Regions from separate parts of the Homo sapiens genome. Here region 1 is linked to region 2. The links are contacts of gene promoters, found by promoter capture Hi-C in blood cells and fetal thymus (Javierre and others, 2016). All regions are on one chromosome and are shown on one strand. The core of a region is centred on a gene start or on the middle of the fragment in contact, and the rest is flanking DNA. Distances in the headings are between cores, read along the strand shown.

Region 1 (6,357 bases), core at 515-3,014, 100 kb before region 2:
TGAAAATGACTTTCACTGACTCATAAATTTTCTAAATTACATAATGATGATAACATGATCATTACTAGTGGGATTATATTATCACAAAAACCTCTTACATTTAAAATGTTCTTATTAAGGCCCCATCTGTATTTGCTAATTAAGTAAAACTGTATTATGATTAAAACTGCATGGAAGAGGCAGAATGCTTTGTTTGCTTGGTTTTCATATTTTACATTTAAGAAAGATTGAATATCAAAAACATCTGTTTCTGATAATCCTATAACAGAGTTTTTAGTCCATGCATTAGAAATCTTTTGGTATTGGTAGAAAGAATTTTGCAAGATTTCTTCTTTAATATTAATTTGGTATTTATAAAAGAAAATATGTTTATAGCTGATTTTCAGTGGAAATAATATTTTTTAAAGATGTACCTTATGTGACTAATTAAATGTTCTTTGCCAATCAGCACATCTGCAGCCAGATTTCAAAACTATATATTCATTTGGCCACAGAGACTTTTTAGCCCAATCTTGCAAAATATTTGCTATTGTAGTATAATTGAGAATAAAACAGTCTAAATTAGTGAAGAAATACAGAATATGAACAATTACAATGTATGAAAAAAATATACACAATATTTTTTTCATCACATCAAAACCCATTTACTGGGTCGTAAAATCAATTTAATAGGTCTTGTTAGCATTTTTTTATAGGGAGGATGGGATGGAATTGAGAATAGAGTACATTGCATGTTGTAAGGAAAAGTATGGTTTCATGAAATGTTAGTTTTATATGTCTGTGTTTCTGTGTGTGAATATACTGGATTGCTGTGTAAACTGTATTTCTTACTGTGGATTGTTATCATTAGTTTGAAAACATTATTTTAGAGAAATACCAATTTGTGTATAGTATGTGGAATTAACCCTTCACCTATTGTCCTGGAAGACCCATCCAAGTCCCAGTATTAGCAACTAGAGAAAAATTATATGCATTTAGTATATTATTTATGGAAATAAATGTTTCTGAAGTCCTCAGTTCTCAGCAAAAACTTGTTCCTGTACAAGACATTCCTGGGAAACCTAAACAAAGAGAAAAGGAAGGATAGAAGGATCTGCTAACATATTTAAAGCCTTCTGCCTGTTTTCCTGAATAACATTCTACCACCTGGTTAAGGGTGTTTATTTATAGTAAGGAGTACACGGGGGTGAAATGCCCAAGACCCCTCACTTTATAAGGTCTTAACTGGCATCAGCTCGTTGCTTCTGTACAGTGGAGCCTCATTCCTCACAAGGTATTGGTTTGAGTGGGATGTTTTGACTTAGACCCAAAGCAAGAATGGGTCCATGGCAGCCAGGGGGAGAGAGAAAATGCCAAAACTATGGAAAGGATTGAGAACCTGGCGGCAGTGAAGAGTGAAGACCCCACAGCCTTCCCAAATGCTAAGGTCGAGAACATGGGGCAGGGAGGTAGGTCTAGAGCCAAAGCTTGAAGCCTGAAGTGTTGGATGCAGTCAACCACTGGAAATCTGTCAGAAGCCAGTGTCCCAGCCAGAAATATGGCCTTCCTTCAGAACTCCCCCTTTCCCTTTCTTACCCTGAGGAGTCATTCCATCCCTGTGTTCAACTTTTTTATACTGGTGGAATCTGGCTTATAACAGGACCAGTCCGATACAACATCTGGACTGGCTCCAGTACCTGGATCATACCTCACTTGTGGGCCAAAATCCAATTATTAAACACTTGTCATTTATATTTACTTTGTAATTTATTAAACATTTGTCATGTTCTTGCTGTGCTACCTATTTTCATATTCTATCTGACAATAACAGTTGACATTTTCTCTCAAGAAGTGGAGAGAGCTGGAAAATTCAGCAAAGAAGGGTTAAATAACTTTTCCTTTAGCCAGTGCTTTCAAAGATGCCCCAACCCTAGAATTACAGATACCACTTAGGCTACTAAGCTAGGCTGTTGTTTGAAACTGACCTACTTCTGTCATCCTCCACAGTTGTCTTAATGGGAGGCAATTTATGCCCCACATTTACTGTAGTGCTTGCAGAAGGCATCAAGCTCTACAAAGCTTCATGCTTGTCCTTAAAAGTTAATTGGGAGCATCAGGGGAGGAGTGAGTGCTGGGAACAGCTATTTCCATTTCCCAGAACAGTAGTTGAATCCTCTCATCTTTCCAGGGTAATTTTAGGAAAACCTCAGTCATTTACTCTACTTTCATTGCCTAGATTTTAGGTTTTCAGTACTTTGAAATGACAGCTTTTCAAAAAGATACTACCTAAAGAGAAATGAGATGTAGATTTAAACAAAAGATGAATATTGAAGTAATCCATTTAAGATAATAGCTGAAAATATTTATTCCGTTATTATGTCTTTCACTGGATTTTATTTCATCTGAAAATGTTAGATAGAGGAGACTCTGGATTTGGAAACTGGACCCCAGAGTGGTGAAAGGACTTCCCAAGAGGTGGCCTTGGGACCAGGCTAAGAACTCAGTTCTCCTGACCACCCCTCTCTATGCCACATTGTCCTGCTAGATCTAAACATGAGGAATGTTCACATGGATGATGTCACCAATTGACACCATCCAACATGGCTTAATAGAAAAACCATGGACTTGTAGCCAGGGAAATTCAAACTTAAGTCTTTATCTCACAAGGTTGCATGAACTAATTGAGGTAGCATGTGAAGCACCTAGCGCAGAGCAGATGTTCAAGAAATTAGGTCCCACACGGGAATTACAACCTGAAGACACATTCTAAAGGTAGGAAAGTTTGTCACTAATTCTTTCTCGCCTTCTCTTCCTGTTGTCTAGCTGGTGCTATGGGTGGGTGCATGGAGTCTTCAGGCTGCCCTCAGAATACCTAAAGTTTTCTCAATACAGTGTATGTCAAACTTCATTCCATGCATCATCCCATTCTGTGCCTGTTTTTCATTTAAATTAAGGGTCTTTGGACCATTCCTGCTGGCTTTGCTAATCTTATAAACTGATGTTTATGAAAATGGTAATAACTAAAGCTAGATAATGTCTTAGAATGTCAAGTCTTCAGTTAAAGATACTTGATCTCATTAGAGTAGTCTTCCCAGTCTTACTTTTTACTGATCTCCTCTACCTTTTTCAGTATGAAAAGTCTTCTTCATAACAGGGTATTCAGGATCAAAAGTAGGAGTTAAAAGGTTCTGGTTTTCTCTGTGACATTTATCAAACTCTGCACCATGAGTCACTCCCAGCAATGAGCTTGTCTGCTGCTTTGTTGTCTTGCCTTTTGATGTTTCTGTTACATTTAAAATATAAAATAAATGTATTATTTTCTTAGAATATATTTATTATTTTAATAACTAAGGTAATATATGTTCATTATTTAAAATTCCACATACATAGAAGGCTACAGAAGAGAGTGAAAACTCTCCTGTGTTTCCACTCTACCTCCCCCATTTTAAAATTTGGGTAACTACCACCAGCTGTTTCATATGTATCTTCTTCCCAGAACTGTATTTTACACCTGAACCAGTATATCTTTTTTTAAGTTTAAAAATCAATCAGTTTGTATTTTTATCAAATAATGGTTTACAAAGCCAAACAACTAAAAAAGACAAAATTTTTTAAAGAGCACTTTCTCAGTCACCATCACCACCACCTCCTGATAGCCAGGGGGACTGCCCTTAACTCCTAACTCTTAGTTTCTGTTATTGTCTTCGTGTCTCAAAATGGTGTGCTTTTACTCTTTTTTTCTTGATTTGTCGATTGTATTATCTTCTATTATGGTAGGTAAAAATCATGCTGTCTTAACATTCCCACATCATTTTTCTCCCATCCTTTCAACAGTTATATAACCCAATTTTTTGATAATTCACTGTTTACACTATTTAACAATGTAAATATTGTTCATTGATGAGCAGCTGTAATTTCGTTTATTTTTTTGGTCAACTTTTTTTCCCACGAGTTAATTGCCTTACATTTTAATTTTCTTTGTTTCTTTGTGTGTGTATATCTCTAGCTGATTCTTTTCTAATTCACTGACAGATCTATGAAATCTTTCAAAACACGGTCAACATATAAGATAATATATCAGTTCCATTTTGTTCATTTTAAATCAGAGATCTCCCTTTTGGCTTTGTCTTTTCTAATCAGGACTGGTTGTTCCGTTGCATTTTATACATTTGTCATCCTGGGACCTTGCTTCACTGCTGCCCCAGGAGTTCATTTACATCTTTCTTGTGTTGAGTTCCCTGTTTCTAGATCCTATGTTGTTTTCTTCCTTGGCTTATTTCCTTGTTTTACTAGGACATATCCTTCTGTAGCTTTCTGAGTAAGGATCCAAGGAACCCTTGGAATAATTTTTAAATTCCATTCATGTCTAAAAATATCCCTATTCTGCCCTCTAACTTAATTGATATTTTGGCTGGGTATAGACTCAGATATAAATCATTCTGAAAACACTATTTCATAGTCTTCCAATGATCCCTTTCAAAAAATCCATGGCTCTTCGGCTTCCTTATTCTTTATATGTGACCTATTTTCTATGAAAAGTTTTTAGAATCTTTTATTTATCTAAGATAATTCTGAAATTTAAGGAAGGATCTCTTTTGGTATAGGTATTCTTTCTTCTTCTTCCACCCCCAGCCCTTCTGGGGCCCTTTAACCTAGAGATTTGATTCCAAGAAATGCTCATTTAGTATTCATTTGAAAGTTTCCTCCTCTCCATTTTCTCTGTGTTCTGTTACTATAACGTCTTTTAGCTGAAGAGGAAACTACTTTGACTAATTCTTTTTTTATTTTTCTGAAATTTTTTAAATATTTTTTAAAATTTTTTTATTTTTCTCTCCAGTTTTCTATTGCTTTTTCTACTTCCTGAGAAATTTTCTAGAATTATCTTTCAAATTATCTTTCTTTGTTTTTTGGCTTTCATAGATTTTTTTTTTGTGTGTGTGCATGACCTGCTGAATCATAAGATTTTTTTTTTGAAATCCTAAGAGATCTTTTTATTCTCCAAACATTTTCTTTCTTAAGTCAGTATCAGTATCCTATTTTTCTTTCAGAAAGATCTGAGGATTTTTTTTTTCCACTTTAAAGTATTTTAAGTTTTTGCATTGATCTCTTTACAGTGATCTCTGTTTACTTCTTCCCCTTCCCTACTCACTGCGGTGCGTTTGCTTAGGTCTCAGTATTTTCTGCTGGAGATTTTCTTCAAAGGTTTGGTATTCCTAGGTGTTTTACAGCACTGAAGCACTAAACAGCTTTCCTCCCTGCCTCCTCTCCAGGCAGTTTCCTGGGTTAGGAGTCTGGGTGTTGGAGAGTGTAAAGATGGCAGAACCCAGCTGTTTCTCCCATCTGTCCTGCCTCTTGTTCAGCCCAGTTACAGAACTAGGTGCCTACTCGACTTTTCCCTGCCTCTCGCAGAACTGAACCAGTTCAGTCCTCCACTCCTCTGTGTTAGTAAACATTATCACTTGAATGTTTCCAGAGCCTATCATTTACTCACACAAATCTCAGCCTGATTGAAATATGGAAAGGTGATTAATAGTTTTCAGCATCCTTTCTGGGTTCACTGCCGATACCATATATTTGGCAGACATCCTTCCACATCTGTGGCTTGAATTATTTCCCAGTTTCTTCATTAGGTTTTGTTGTTGTTATTGTTGTTTCATTTTCTTGGGGTCTCGGGGAACAGAATGAAGTAAATAGTTTTTTCCTGGAAGTTCCTGGAGATTTTATTTAAATCCAAGTTGCCCTGGGCATTTTTCAGAAGTGTTGAGTCATTTTCAGTTTTTACCTTTAGTTATTTAACAAGTTTTGAGTACCTACTAATAGTAGCATACAGCAAGATGGTAATTCTTACAAGTCATTATATTACCTAATTATCCTTGATTATGTAATTTTCTTCATAATCCTCTACCCACCCCATTTTGTCCTTTTAAAAGTTTAAATCATTGGAAAGCTAGCCCAATGATTTTGGAAATTCCCTTTCACCTTCATCAGAATGCATTGGATTAAGCAAACCAAATAATCTCTTTCAGACTGTCTAAATCTTTTACGGCTGGTGTTACTTTTAGAGACACATGGCTATGTAATTACACAGTAGAGTCACATTGCGTATTTGTAAGAATATAGTTATAAGTGCCCAGGAAAAAGGGGTTGGGGGAGAATTAAGAGGGAGTAAATTATCCAAAAGGCTCTGGGCTGCCTTCATCAAATGAAGGCATGCAGTCAAATAATGTGATGGAGAAGTCGGATCCATTCTTCCCACAGTTAGTCCTGGTTCCTGGATGCCTCATGTAGTGTGAGCACTTCTCAGTGCAAAGTGCGAGCCTAGTTCAGTGACACTAATTCTTGTTCAGCAAGGCCACTAACTGCAAACACAAGACAAAA
Region 2 (6,447 bases), core at 3,661-6,160:
TGTCTATCATCCCAGCGTTTTCGGTAACAGTTATATAATAAACAATTTCTGGTCTTCAGACAGAGAATATTGTAGAGCAACATGTTGACATGTTGATTGCCTTAAAAAAAATAGATGTTGAGTGCAAGCAACCACTAGCATCAGTATTACACATCCATCTAAATATCCATCAGTTGGGAACAATAGATACTGGGGACTCCAATAGTGGGGAGTGGGGGCAGGGGAAAGGGGTGAAAAACTACCTATTAGTTACTGTGTTCACTAATGGGGTGACAGGTTCAATTAAAGGCCAAACCTCAGCATCACAAAATATACCCATGTAACTAACGTGCACATGTACCCACTGAATCTAAAATTTTTTTAAAAACAATCAATCAATCAATCATTATCCATCATTGCTCCATCAACTCTCACCTACCAAACTAGAGCCAATGGGTGGGATGGGGAGTAGAAGTGACGGGGAAGAAGGATTGAAAACATTTTAGAGAACACATTGAACTCAAACTGAAAAAAAAAGAACATATTGGATTCAGAAAAATGAATTAGAAAATTTGGAATCATTTACACTAACACATTCAGGAGATGGACAAGCAGACTCCCACTGATGACTGAGCTGCTTAAGAGTTGATACACGTACAATTAAAACTAAAGTTTTTCTCACTGAACTCTGGGTATTTGGCTTAAAAATAAAATAAAACTAAAGATGTGGTGGCTTATGCCTGTAATCCCAGTACTTCAGGAGGCTGAGGCAGGGGGACTCTATGAGGCCAGGAGTTCAAGACCAGCCCGGGTAATATAGTGAGACCCTGCGTTTACAAAATATAAGAATAAAAAAATAGCTGGACATGGTGGCATGGGCTTGTAGTCCTAGCTATTTGGGAGGCTGAGGTGGGAGAACTGCTTGAGCCTAGGAGTTCAAGGCTGCAGTGAGCCATAATCACGCCATTGCACTCCAGCTTGAGTGACAGACACTCTGGCTCTTAAAAAAAAAAAAGTTAAAAAACATTTTATTAAATAATAATACATACAGCAACCTTGATATTGGCTCTTTATATTTTATTCTTAAGAAAAAATATTGGCCACACCCTAGGAATGTGTCACAACTGCAGTTTGAAAAATGCTGACATAGAGCAGCAAAGGTACATTAGTATTAGTGCTTTGTGAACTTCCTCAAGGTCCTATTTTTACTCTATGTTACTTGTTAAGTTCAGAGACAATACACTTGTGAAAGTGAACTGCATCTTTCCAGCCCTCTATTTGCACATTTCCTTGGCATTCTGAATTAGAAACAGGGCAGTCATTCTCTCTAAGGGGGCCAGTGGCAGGTGAGGGCAGCTCATATATACAAGTTCTTCCTAAGTTATACATTCATTTGTTTTGTACTTGCTTATTGGTTTTCACTGTCTTCCACCACAAGAACCTTCTTTTCTTGCATCTCAGACTAATTCTTCTTGGTTTCAGTATTTAAGGTTAGTCAACTGAAACTTGCTAATTTAGGAATACCAGGATAAGTAAGAAAAACTCTTTACCTGTGAGTAACTCATAGATTAGAAGAAACAGACGGGTGTAATAGAGTGAGATGTTGACAGTGTTCCAGCAGTAGGGAAAGATGGATGTAACTGACAAGGGCTGGAGTTGCTTCCTCAGAAGAGATGTAATTGAAAAAGAAATTACCTAATTTTGCCTAGGGTAAGAGATGGTATTCCTGGAAGATGGAACAGCATGCACCGAGGCATGGAGGCAGGAGGTAGGGAGAACAGAAAATTCCATTTGTCTAGAGTTCCAGGAGAGTGATGGAAGATGAGGCTGCTGTGCATATCTGTAGGCCTGGGGAGCGCCCTCAGGTGACTCTGTGCTCTCACTGTTCTCTGGAAGGAAGCAGGAAGGGGTAGGTTCAGATTTCAGGGTCTCAGTTTTACTTCTTTCTACTAGACTATAGCTCTACCGAAAGTCTGGAATTGTCTTATTACCTGAATCCTCACTGCCTGGTACAGGGGCTGGTATGGACCTAGTGGACATTCAGAGGGATATCAGACAATTAGCTCACCCCTGTAGCCCCACACTTGGTGGATATCTGAAACTCAGGTCCAGTCTGCGCTCTCGTCTTCAAGATGAATAAAATAAAATTGCAGCTTTTTTGAAATAACTTAGGAAAATAAATATTCTCTTTTATTGAGAACTCTTCTCAAAACTACCCCTTCCTGGAAAGATGTTTCCAATGAATTAATATCTTAAAATTATTATCATTTTACCTTCCAGATTCTACAGATAAGGAAAACAGAGATGAATAAAACATAGAAGTATAAAAATGATTGACTTGTGATATCCCAGTTTTCTGTTTCTTACCAGTGGCTGATGCTCAATAACAACTTTAGGTTTTTGATTATTTTTAAATAAATTTATTTTGGATAAGTGTGAATGTCATCAAAGAAATAATGCATGTTAGAGTTGGGTGATCCTTTTGAGCTTATTCTGGCTTATCCCTCTCATCTTATAGTTAAGGAAAGTGGAGCCTAAATAATTTTATGCAAGCTGCCCCAAATTTTTTCTTTCTTTTTTTTTTTTTTTGAGACGGAGTTTGGCTCTTGTTGCCCAGGCTGGAGTGCAATGGTGTGATCTTGGCTCACCACAACCTCTGCCTTCCGGATTCAAGCAATTCTCCTGCCTCAGCCTCCCGAGTAGCTGGGATTACAGGCATGTGCCACCACACCCAACTAATTTTGTATTTTTAGTAGAGATGGGGTTTCTCCATGTTGGTCAGGCTGGCTGGTCTCGAACTCCCAACCTCAGGTGATCTGCCCGCCTCGGCCTCCCAAAGTGCTGGGATTACAGACGTGAGCCACTGCACCCAGCCCAAATTTTCTAATGAACAATGAAAATCAACCAAACAGCCATGACTCACAGCAAGCTACCTTTTTGATGTGTGTCCCTTCAGTCTCTTAAAAATGTGTATGCGTATTCTTATACTAAAATCTTATCATACTCTTTATATTTTTGGATCTTGCCTTTTTCATTCAATATATTTTGAGGATTTTCTCCAAATTTATTCACATGTTTACTACTCGCATATCCACATATTTAATGGCTCCAAAACATCTCATTGTATGGATAAACCATGATTTAAGTGATCTCTTCCCTGTTGTTAGGTATTTAGGTTGTGAGTTTTTGTTGTTGTATTGGCAATAAAACCTTTGCATCAGTCATGAGGCTTCTTTCTAGTTATTTCTTAAGGGAGAAATTACTGGTTTGGCCGAAGGGGACGGACATGTTTAAGGCTTCAGATATATACTGCCAAGCTGACTAGCCCAGGAAAGTTGTACAGATTTGCCCTAATCAATATGTTTCATAACTGTTTTTGAAATCTTGCCAACTTTAAACCTAATAGGTCAGTATCAGTAATTCCCGTTAACGTAAGAGTTCAAATTTGCCCTAGTTTTAATCATTTAAAAATTTTTTATAATTTTTAAATGATAACAATTATGATGCAACCATGACTTTGAGAAGCCAAGAGATCTTATTCTCAAATTGTAAATGAATCCGTAAGAGCTAAGAGAGAAGAAACAGGCTATTAAATGGCCAAAGATCAAATCTGAAATGTCCAGGAGTTTTCCTGTAGGGGTCACTGTTACTGTCAATTTATGCCTGCAAGAAAACTAAAATAGTCACACATTAAAGCATGTATGCACATTTTTAATGTCTGATTCCTCTACATTTCTTAAACTGTAAAATAATAAGAACATGCAGCCAGATAGCATCGCGATACCAACTTCTTTATATAATGACACGTACCATTCCACTCAATGTGCTCCTCAGTTTGAATTTATAAAATATATGCTACTCAAATGAAAGGCACTTATGCCTGCTCTTAGTAGAGGAAGCGCTAGCTAATTGCCTAACGCCCCATTAGCATATGGCCTATACTGACTTGAGAAGGAAAGAACGTTCATTGCTGTGGCCAATAGGATCCCCTCTCCCCACCTTCCCTTTTCTGCATCAAAATCTACACAGACAAAAGTCAGATGTTGTAATATGCATTTTATCGTGTCACTTAAGTACTAAGAGGTGCTTTTAAAGTTTTTATTAATGCTGCTCAAACTTGACCCCGACGGTCCAGGATACAGGCCAAGGTGTCAGTGCGGACACAATCGCAAGGCGGCTGTTAGGCTTCAGGGCTGGGCAGGAAACTTGCCAGGTGCTACTAGGAACGTATCAGCCCTTTCTACAAAGCAGGTGTCTTTCCCATCATAAAATGCAAAGCAATCAGCCGTTCCCTTTCTCCCCAGCCCCCTCGTCCGGAGACCGAGAGGATATTTACCCTGGGCTCTTGCAGTTCTCTTATAACTGAACCCAGCGGCGGCTCCTTCTCCGAGCTCAGAGCCAGCAGGCTCAGGCCCAGCCACACTTTACAGGCAAATTGCCGAGCTGACCAAGGGCTTTGGCCAAGCCCGAGCTGGGCCGGGGCGTCCGGGAAGCGGAAGGAGCCAGTCTAGGAAATCCGGGTGTGCGTGGTGGTGAAGCTGGTGGGCAAGCTTCCACTTCAGGTCCGGGGCTTTGTGTCCCGCAACAGACGCTTGGCGCCGCTCCTCTTCCAGCCTGCTGCCGCCTTCTCCGAGCGAGTGAGTTGGCGAAACTCACTCACCTGTCGGAACCCGGTGCCTGGCGGCCAGACGCGCAGATTACAGCAAACCTTGGCCGGGACGCCCCAGCCAGGGAGGCAAGTGTGGGAGCTGCTCCTAGAGGTGCCAGCTCCCACCCCCAGCTCCGCGCCCCCTGCTCGTCCCCTTTCACTTCCAGGCGCCTTCGGCTTGGGGTGCCCAGAAGGGCAAGTCCAGCAGACGCCAGGGCTGCAGGTTCAAGATGCTCCGCCTCCTCCTGCCACTTAGAGCCACAAACGCTAGCGGGAACCTTTCCACTCAGTCTTAGTCTGCGGTCACTGCTGAGGTTTTCAGAACTTTCCAGGCAAAGGCCAGCCAGGTCCTTTGCCTCCAACCCACTCCGCGCCTACCTCCCGCCTGGGGACACCCCTAGGCCCAGGAGATCCTACTCTCCCCCGAGCACCGACGTTCCAACTCGTCTGCGCCCCCGACTGCTGTCCGGCTCCTGTGCCAAGGGGCGCGCGCATCTTCCCGGGGCCAGCAACGCTCCCAACTTCTCGACTCGCCCTCCTCCTCCCCAGAGCGAGAGTGGGGCGGGCTGAGCCCGGATCCGGGGTGCACTCGAGCGTTCCCAGCGCTCGGCATTCACCCCGCCTCAGAGCCGACTTTCGAAGGGGGATTGAGCCTCGGAGGTCCAGGCGTCTTACTCCAAAGCTCAAGTCGGCCCCCGTCTTTTCTTTCCACACCCCTGTGCCCGTCGCATGCTGGCCGGGTGAGCGGCCGGGCCGAGGATTCGGGTGCCCGGGGCCGCGTCGCCCCGTCGGGTACTGAGCTGAGCGCACCATGGCCGGCTGCTGCTGCCTGTCCGCGGAGGAGAAGGAGTCGCAGCGCATCAGCGCGGAGATCGAGCGACAGCTTCGTCGGGACAAGAAGGACGCGCGCCGTGAGCTTAAGCTGCTGCTGCTGGGTGAGTGGCTGCGTCTCCGACTCCAGTGAGCCGGGCGTTTTTCTTCCGAGCCCTCCCGGCCTCTCCACTGGCACCCGCGCGGCCCTGGAGCCCAGCGGGGTGCAGGGCGGCTTCGTCCTTCTCCCCCTCGGAGCTCACGGATGCCAGCAACTTGGGGCCTTAGGTGCCTGTTCTTTCCATCTCTGGCTGGGCGACTTGCAAAAGCAACACCTTCCCCTGCCCCAAAACAGGATAGGGACCTGTAACACTTAACCTCTTGACCGCTGTACCTTATGTGTTCCGGTGTGCCCCTCTCCTCAAAACCCCGTCCACTCCTCCGCCCGCAGCACACCCAGCTTGGGGTCTGTGGTGACCCACATCTTGGGTTCAGCGCTAGCTCTGACCCGTACGCTTTCAGTTCTAGATGAAGCATCTTGAGAATTTACCATGTGCCAGATCGTGCTAAGTTCTTAAGGGCATCACCACCTGGTGATGCGGGCAGGTGATATCGCTATTCTAGAGAATTAAAACATGGAGGCCTGGAGAACTGACCAACTTGCCCTGATTGAGAAAAGGCAAAGCCGATGCTAGGTCAGCTGTGGGGGTGAAGCCCATGCCGTTGCTGCTCCTCTGACCGTGAGCTCCTATGCCTGCCTCCCATGGGGGTCCCTCAGGCCTTTGTGTTTGCAGCGGACCCAAACCTCCCTTGCCCAGCTTGACTCAGTGTGTCCACGTCCTAGGATTCAGCTTGGCTGCCCTGGTGCCTCTGGCAGGTCTTCATCCAGCTCTTTTGGTGTCTCTGCAAAGGTCTGGGTAGGACATCCACTTTCAAACACAGAAAGAACACAGTTTAAGGTTTGCCCAAGTTATGCCATGAGGCAAGGATCCCATCTCAGACTTTCTAGA

Evidence for each region. Contacts are between HindIII fragments. The CHiCAGO score rates a contact against its expected background, and 5 or more counts as called.
Region 1: a contact is called between a fragment that was not itself captured here and the fragment with the promoter of GNA14 in region 2, in 1 of 17 cell types (endothelial precursors). The highest score is 5.5, in endothelial precursors.

The regions. Positions count from the first base shown.
Region 1 is chr9:77,744,165-77,750,521 of GRCh38, reverse strand. All of the region lies in intron 5 of GNAQ (G protein subunit alpha q), which reads left to right. Among named protein-coding and RNA genes, the nearest start is that of GNA14, 99 kb to the right of the region's middle. The HindIII fragment of the contact is 592 bases long and covers 1,469-2,060 here.
Region 2 is chr9:77,646,785-77,653,231 of GRCh38, reverse strand. It overlaps GNA14 (G protein subunit alpha 14), which reads left to right and starts at 4,910. Exons shown (of 7, transcript NM_004297.4): 1 at 4,910-5,562. The coding sequence starts at 5,439. The HindIII fragment of the contact is 2,117 bases long and covers 4,532-6,447 here.